2 separate regions of the Homo sapiens genome follow, and region 2 is linked to region 1. The links are contacts of gene promoters, found by promoter capture Hi-C in blood cells and fetal thymus (Javierre and others, 2016). All regions are on one chromosome and are shown on one strand. Each heading gives the region's core, a stretch centred on a gene start or on the middle of the fragment in contact. The rest is flanking DNA. Distances are from core to core; before and after follow the strand shown. Region 1 holds the start of MCTP2 (multiple C2 and transmembrane domain containing 2). Region 2 overlaps LOC105370982 (a long non-coding RNA gene).

What was found. Contacts are between HindIII fragments. The CHiCAGO score rates a contact against its expected background, and 5 or more counts as called.
Region 2: a fragment that was not itself captured here is called in contact with the fragment with the promoter of MCTP2 in region 1 in 1 of 17 cell types (monocytes); the score reaches 5.8 in monocytes.

The regions. Positions count from the first base shown.
Region 1 is chr15:94,229,546-94,233,671 of GRCh38, forward strand. MCTP2 (multiple C2 and transmembrane domain containing 2) reads left to right here and starts at 2,016. Exons shown (of 23, transcript NM_001385001.1): 1 at 2,016-2,119. RefSeq lists an enhancer at 271-410 and a silencer at 1,946-2,075. The HindIII fragment of the contact is 9,020 bases long and covers 284-4,126 here.
Region 2 is chr15:93,275,710-93,279,835 of GRCh38, forward strand. All of the region lies in intron 5 of LOC105370982 (a long non-coding RNA gene), which reads left to right. Among named protein-coding and RNA genes, the nearest start is that of RGMA, 190 kb to the left of the region's middle. RefSeq lists enhancers at 1-182, 183-683, 1,941-2,823, 2,824-3,705. The HindIII fragment of the contact is 2,053 bases long and covers 663-2,715 here.

The DNA of each region.
Region 1 (4,126 bases), core at 766-3,265:
AGTAAAGTTAAATTGGTATAAGCAACAATATTATTCCCTGGAAGGGACATTTCCTGGGTGGAACATAGAAAAGGAGACAGGTAATATGTTTGAACAATTAAAAACAAAAAACCCAGGAAGCTGGGCAGATGAGTGTATTGTGGTGGGAAGGGCAAGTTGTGACCTTAGATTTCTGTATCTTTAGTTGTTTCACTTTCTATACCATTTAATGATTGAAAAATGCGGTTGGACTGCCGGAACCACAGAACAGGAACTCCACTGGGGCAGGAGTTAAAGGCAAAAAAGCTTTTGTGTGGGTTCACTTACTATTTTAATTCATTTGTATTCTTAGTCAGCTTTAAAGGTATGATTGCTTCGTCTGCCTACTGCTCTTTCTCTTCTTCCTTTCATGCTGTTTTACCCTTACCTCTCTCTGTTCTCTGCTAGGGGATGTAACCTTCGGCACGGTGGGAAAAGCCAATTTTGCCATAGGCCTCAGCTTGCTCTGACTCGGCTACTAACTTGACTCATAGCTTCAGGCAGGTTATTTCATGGTTCTGATGCTCATTTTCCTCATCTTGAATCAGAGATTTTATTAACTGTCTCCTGGTTTGTGAAAATTCAATATGATCACGTGTTACATGCCAATCACAGAAACTGGTGCGAAGTTGTGTTCCTCAGTGGTAGCTATTGTTGTAAGTCGGAATTGCATGACAGTGGCAGCTGTTTTCTATCACGTCCTCATGTTTTCTAAATTTTTATGCCCCTTCCTCCCATTTCCTACCTTAGTATTGTTAATAGCTAACTTTTATTAAGTGGTTACCATGGCCCAGGACACTGTAATGAGGATTTTATGTGAATTACCTAATTAATTTCTCAGAAAGTATGAGATAGCTATTATTTTAAGCTATTTAAGCTATTTTAAGCTATTTAAACAACCAGTTTGTTGAAGTTAAAATTTAGAGAGGTTAAGTGAACTCGTCCATTTACACAATTAGTTGCCCAGGCAGAATTTGATTTGAGGTCTGACTCCAAAGCCGGAGCTCTTAATCACCAGTGACACCAACTAAACGCTTCATTTCAGAGCTCGCCTATTCCCAGAGGTCCCATTCCCGTTTTAAGGTTATTTTCTGTAACTCTCTTGTATCTAATTTAAAAATGCTATTTCCCAGAGATGAGTCCCTGATCTCCCAGAAGGCATGGATCATACATTTCTTTTCCTAATCCACCCAAATTCCTAGAGCGCACAGACTTAGGCTCGTTCATAGACGGGAAAAGAAACTGACCAGGCAGTGAAACCGAGCAAACAAAGTGCAATAAGACAATTACAGCAGGAAAGCGGCGTAAAAAAAAGTAGAAAAAGAAAGTAAGGGAAAGGGGAAATAAATAGCAAATATTCGCTGAGTGCCAACAATCGCACGGGAGGGTCTTTAGGGTTCTCTGCCGAGTACTCGGGACGGCTTGCTGAGCAGTACGCCGGCCTTATCTCATAGATGAGGCACCAAGGCTCAGGAAACAGTTCTGTGGATCTGGGCGGGCATCTTCCACCCACAGTCGCGCACACGTGGCATAGGTTAATAGGCTGTCTGGCTCGGGTACCTCTTCCCAGGGTCAGGGCGTTACAAAGGGAGGCTGCTGTCTTCCCATGAATCTATTAGGGACCTACAGGAGCGAAGAGAACCCTTCTGAGTATCAGCGAAGACAGCTTATTAAGACTTTACGAGTTTGCAAGCCATCCTCGTCCTATTTCCTCACTTCGGACTTTTTGGACACACCTTCCTTTTCCTGTGAGCCAACCCAAACGAATGAGTTACAAGTAATCGCCTTCTCTACGCCCAGCCAGTGCCCAGCACCAAGCATAGCGCCTCCTTGCAACACCCGGCCGAGCTCCCGGCGGCAGCGCGGGCGCTTGGGTCGGAGGCTGCTCAAAGGTGACGCGCGGCCGCCTCCTCCCCTTTAGGCGGGGCTCGCAAGGGCGGTGGGGGGGCCCGAGGAAGTCCGGGGGCCCTCGGTGATGCCCCCGCCCCCGCCGCGTCAGGGTTGCTCCCTGCGCTTCCGAGTGGCGACTGCAGCGGGTCCGGTGCAGGTGAGGGGCGCGCGCCTGCCCAGCTTTGCAGCCCCCGAACGCGGCCTCGCACAGGTGAGGGCGGTGCCGGGTTCACCTGGCAGCGCGCGTGGGCCGGGCAGCACGGTCGCCGCCTGGGGGTGGGCGTCTTCTCTCAACCGAAGCTGGGAGTTGGGGAGCTGGAGGGTCCAGGATGAGAATTCAGTGGCGCTACTACCCCGGAGCTGCTTGTGGTTCAGAGATCAGAAAGGTGTCCTGAGGACTGGAGGCAGAAATCCAGGCGTGGCGTACTGGAAGGCGCACTAGGGGAGGGCAGCCTGGCCCAGAATTTCTTTGCATTTTAAAGGCCACACATTCAGTCTCCCCGGGGCGCTACGGAGGTAGTCACCGCCACATCCAGGACTCCTTCCACAGAGGTCAGTTCCTCAGCTGGGTGGGCTTTAATACGCTCTCTTCGTAGAGACCCGGAGGTTCAACTTTAATTCTTTGCGCTGACATTTGCTCAACGACACCGGAGCAGAAATCCTTGGGATAATTGCGTAGGTAACAAACAGTGTCTCAATCCCACTGAAGATAAGTAAGTTAAAAATAAAGACAGTGATGTTGGTGGTGAACTTGAGTGGCGATTAGTTTCCGCAATTAGTTCCCTCCTGCACTGTCCATTTGTTAAGCAAATGTGCTGACGGCTTTTTTTAAATGATTGGGTTGCCATAAAAGAGGTTTTCTCTAGTCTGAATGAACTTCTGTGCGATGCTGACTGAGGGTTTCAGCCTCCTCTAGATGCTTACAAGAGCTTGGTCTGGAAGGTACAAGGGTGCGAACCCTTAAGGTACCAAGCAGCTTCTCAGTGAACCGTGAGACGTTAGAACACTTGCTTCAGGACGCACAGAATTCAGACACCACTTATTGAAGGATTTGTATGGATTATAATTTACATTAGCATTCATTTTTTGCTTGAGTCAGTAGCATTTCAATTCAACAAATATTTATTGTACACCTGTTAACGGGCAGACCTCTGAGAGCCGGGCTGGTGTGCTGTTGGGTAGCACAGGTGTTGATATTAATACAAAGGGGAATCTTAAGGCACTTATTCCTCACAGGTGGGTGTTTAGAACGAGACCAATGGTGCTGCGCTTTGCCTCAGCAGCACCTGTGTAATCGCTGGTTATAAGTATTTAAATGCAGGGAGAATGTAAATCTTTGAAGAGTCTCTGTCATTAGCCTGATCAGTCATTCCAAAGCAATAAAAATTGTCAAAACCATGCTTAAAATAAGATTATTAAGAATTAGCTCTGTGCCAAGCACCATGCTAGGCACTTTGTCTTGTCTATGAAATCTACAAAGTAGATACTATTCCCCTGTGCAGATAAGGAACTGAGGCAGAGAGGAGTCCAGTAATTTGTACAAGGTCAGTGGTGAATTTAGAAATTGCATGTGGCTATTTCTGAGTGCAGAACTCGTACTTTTTCACTATTCCATGCTGTCTCTAAGATGGAGAGTGTAAATCCGGCAGATTTAATATAAGAATTCAAATTTATATTCATAGATCCTATCTCCTGGGGATTAATGGAGTTAAAGTAGTCCTCAGGAATGAAGTGAGCACTGTTTTCATTGCACTTGTGTGGTCAAGCTGTGACCTATCTGTGACTAGTAGATGTAGCTTTAAAAGATAAAATTTATTATGTGTCTTAACATATTTTGAAAGGCCTTTCAAAATATGTTAAAAGATAAAATTTATTATGTCTCTTAACATATTTTGAAAGGCCTGATATATCCAAACAGGGCCAATTAATAAAATTGCATATATATTCTCTCTGTGTTATACATGGAAGGAACAGCTAATTTCCTATTATTGGTGTGCTTTACTATGGTCTCCTCCTGCAGAGGTGAGTTTCTCAGCTGAGTGGGCTTTGAAATCAATTTCAGCTTGATTTCTTACAGCTGCAAGATGATTAGCGGTCTCTTGTCACCTGGAAAGGACTTTGTGTTTGTGTAAACCTGTGCTCACACACGAATATATATTTTTCCTTAAACCTATTTCCAGAAGTACTACTTCTGGAAATTGTAGAGTACTGCAATGTG
Region 2 (4,126 bases), core at 439-2,938, 950 kb before region 1:
TAACCTTTTGTGCAGCCAGATCTTTTTTTTTTTTTTGAGATGGAGACTTGCCCAGGCTGGAGTGCTGTGGCGGGATCTCGGCTCACTGCAAGCCCTGCCTCCCGGATTCACGCCATTCTCCTGCCTCAACCTGCCGAGTAGCTGGGACTGCAGGTGCCCGCCACCACGACTGGCTAATTTTTTTTTTTTGTATTTTTAGTAGAGACGGGGTTTCACCGTGTTAGCCAGGATGGTCTCGATCTCCTGACCTCGTGATCTGCCCGCCTTAGCCTCCCAAAGTGCTGGGATGACAGGCGTGAGCCACCGCACCTGGCCTTGTGCAGCCAGATCTTTAGGCCATGCATGTGGCCTGATTCAGCGAGAAACGGGATGACATGAACTGAGGATGAGGGCGGCTGAGCGAGCCAGTTCTTCATAGTCACATTCGGTTTAGCAGCTGATCATGACTTGCAGGTTTCATATCTGAAGATGATTTTCACTTTACCCAGTATTTTCCACAGGAAAAATTAGGGGAACAAAACCCAAAAGCTTTTACTACAGAATATTTTTGTTTCTTTTTAAAAATGGGATCTAATGAGTAATACGTGATCTCGTGATGTTATTAGAAGGTAGGTAACTGGAAGTAGTAGAGGCATTCACAGTCAACCTTTCGGAGTATTGCAAGCTTATTTTTTACAAGCAAAATTATTTTCTGCAAAATCCATTTCATGTGAATACTTAAAATAGAAGCCAATAATAGTTGGGATCCCCTGGATCCCCACCCTGGATCTCACATCGCATTTAGATGTCACGTCTCCTCAGCCTCCTCTTGGCTCTGGGTAATCTGAGCACCGAGGCTGGAGCCCTGCTCACTGCCTGCTTCCTCCCGAAGCCTCTAACTTTCTTCTTGGAACCTCACAGCTTTGTGGAACACTGTTCGAGAGCCCCTGATATACTCCAACACCTATTTACTAAAAATGCAGATGTGAAACGAGTCATTTCAGCTTACATTTAGAAAACAGTCTCTTTCAGGTTGGCGCAGTGGCTCACACCTGTAATCCCAGCACTTTGGGAGGCCGAGGCAGGCGGATCACCTGAGGTCCGGAGTTAGAAACCAGCCTGACCAACGTGGAGAAACCCCGTCTCTAATAAAAATACAAAATGAGCTGGGCGTGGAGGTGCATGCCTGTAATCCCAGCTACTCAGGAGGCTGAGGCAGGAGAATCGCTTGAACCCAGAAGGTGGAGGTTGCAGTGAGCGGAGATCACGCCATTGCAATCTGGGCAACAAGAGCGAAGCTCTGTCTCAAAAAAAAAAAAAAAAAAAAAAAGAAAGAAAAAAGAAAAAAAAGAAAACAGTCTCTTTCAAACCTCCCGGTGAGAAGAAATCCAAATAATTCATGTCAATATTCCGCCCTCGAGGAGGTGGAGCGTAACTCCTCTCTCCTTTCATGTGGGCTGTGCATCGGGACTTCCATCCAGAGAGTACAGTGTGGAAGGAGGAACTCCAAAGGAGTACGGTGGAGACACCTGACAAACACCACCTCAATCAGGTGGTCAAGGTTAAGAGCAACGAACCATGCTAACTGTACATGCCCTGATACGATGGGATGGGAATGGCTCTTCATCTCTGAGGTCTTCCTCCCTAAATCCCTCGCCCAAGTCTAATCACCAGGAAAACATCAGAGCAATCCCGATGAAGGGAGAGTCTGCAGAATGCCTGATCAATACCTCTCACATTTGAAAAGCCATCAAAACCAAAGACACTCTGGGAAGCCGTCAGGGCCAAGAGGAGCTGAAGGAGGCAATGCCTAAATGTGATGTGGTGTCCAGGGTGGTATCCTGCAAGAGTGGAGGGACATTGGTAGAAACTAAGGCTATCTGAATAAAGTATGGATGTTAGTTAATAATAACAATAATACATTGCTATTGGTTCATTAATTGTAATGAATGTACCATACTAACAGAAGATATTATTAGCAGGGGAAAATTGCTTGAGGTTTATGGGTATATGGGAACTCTCTGTACTATTGTGGCAGTTTTTCTGTAAATCCAAACCATTCTAAAATTAAAAGTTACTTTTGAAAAAAAAAAGGTTTATTCCATTACCTAATAATTTGTGGTGTAGGAAAAGTGTTTTTTTTTTTTTTTTTTTTTTAAATTCAGACTAGTCCTTTCTGGTCATACATGGAGGCTAAAGGGGTTTAAAATACTCTGATGGGAGTCTAGACATTAACTTATACAATCCATATTTCTCACTTCACCAGCTTGGGGTACAGAATAAGGTCATATCTTTTAAAATACGCATAATGCTAGACTCCCATTTGCCTTAGGCTAACTGGAGAACGTTATTTTTCCATGCCCTTGGCTCCTGGTGGCATGGTGCTGTCCTCCCGAGACAAGTGCAGTGTGGCCCAGTGAGTCCTGTCACCATCGCCGTCATCGTGGGCCTGCAAGAGCGGAGAAGCCAGCCAGCCCTCCCCATGGCAGCTGTGCAGCTTGGCTTCAGGCCTGGTGCTTGATGGCCTGCGATCCTTCAGTTACTCACCTCTCCAGGCCATGAACACAGCCATTTCTCAGGGGTCAGGGTGGCTAGGTCAGGAAATCTCCCCAGCCATAGCCATTTGAAGTCCTTGGGGAATTCAGAGTGAAAACATTGTTGTCCTTTCCCTCACTTTGAAACTTTCATGCGCGTCGGAGTGAAGAGACCACCAAACAGGCTTTGTGTGAGCAATAAAGCTTTTAATCACCTGGCTGCAGGCGGGCTGAGTCCAAAAACAGAGTCAGCGAAGGGAGATAAGGGTGGGGCGGTTTTATAGGATTTGGGGAGATAAAGGAAAATTACAGTCAAAGGGGATTTGTTCTCAGGTGGGCAGGAGTGGGGGTCTCAAGGTGCTCAGTGGGGGAGCTTTTTGAGCCCGGATGAGCCAGGAAAAGGACTTTCACAAGGTAATGTCATCAGTTAAGGCAAGGACCGGCCATTTTCACGTCTTTTGTGGTGGAATGTCATCAGTTAAGGTGGGGCAGGGCATTTTCACTTCTTCTGTGATTCTTCAGTTACTTCAGGCCATCTGGGCATATACGTGCAAGTCACAGGGGATGCGATGGCTTGACTTGGGCTCAGAGGCCTGACACAAACCTGTTGATTTCCTGGCCCAGCTTGAGTGATATTTCTCCTCTCTCCATCCCCAAGGGGACACATCACTTGATTTCCTGGCTACTTTTGCTCTGTTGTGGGTGAAGAAAGCCACTGCGACTGCATGACTGTGACTTAGATGGAGAGGGGAGGATCAATCTCTTTTTAATAGACAGAAGAGGGAGTGAGCTGGAGAGGCAGGCAGCGAGAGGGAGGCAGTTCTTTCACTGGTAGGGAAAGGACTTGTGTCCTGGGCCTGGATCACCCAGCTCTGTGACTCTCAGTATTCTATCTAATCTTCCTGGGCCTTAGTTTTCTCATCTGCAAATTGGGGAGAGGGATAGAAAAATTGGAAGAGACAAGCCTGACTGTGCAGTGGGTTTTCTTTCCTTTTTTTTTGAGACGGAGTCTCGCTCTATCTCCCAGGCTGGAGTGCAGTGGCGCAATCTCAGCTCACTGCAACCTCCATCTCCCAGGTTGAAGCGATTCTCCTGCCTCAGCCTCCCGAGTAGCTGGGATTACAGGCACCTGCCACCACACCCGGCTAATTTTTGTATTTTTTGTAGGGACGGGATTTCACCATGTTGGCCCGGCTGGTCTGGAACTCCTGACCTCAGATGATCTGCCTGCCTCAGCCTCCCAAAGTGCTGGGATTACAGGTGTGAGCCACTGCGCCTGGCCGTGAAGTGTGTTTTCTGTTCCATCTAGCAGTGTATCCAGGAGCCAAAGCTGGAGCCTGGGCTCTGGCACCCCCTCACCCCCACCCCTCACCCCTACTCCCACCCGAAGCAGTGGTGCTCATCCCCGTGCCACAAGCTCAGCCTCAGTCATGGGTGGGGAGAGAAAAGCCTTGCTCTGACCCCAGCTTAACCCTGGCCCCCATTCAGACGTATTGTTGCTATTGTTTTCTGGGGTTTGCTTCACCGGAATACTGCCCCTTCATGTTCTAAGATCCTTCCCAAGGAATACGCAAGTCCCTCCCCCACCACAGTGCACATTCACTAGATAGGGG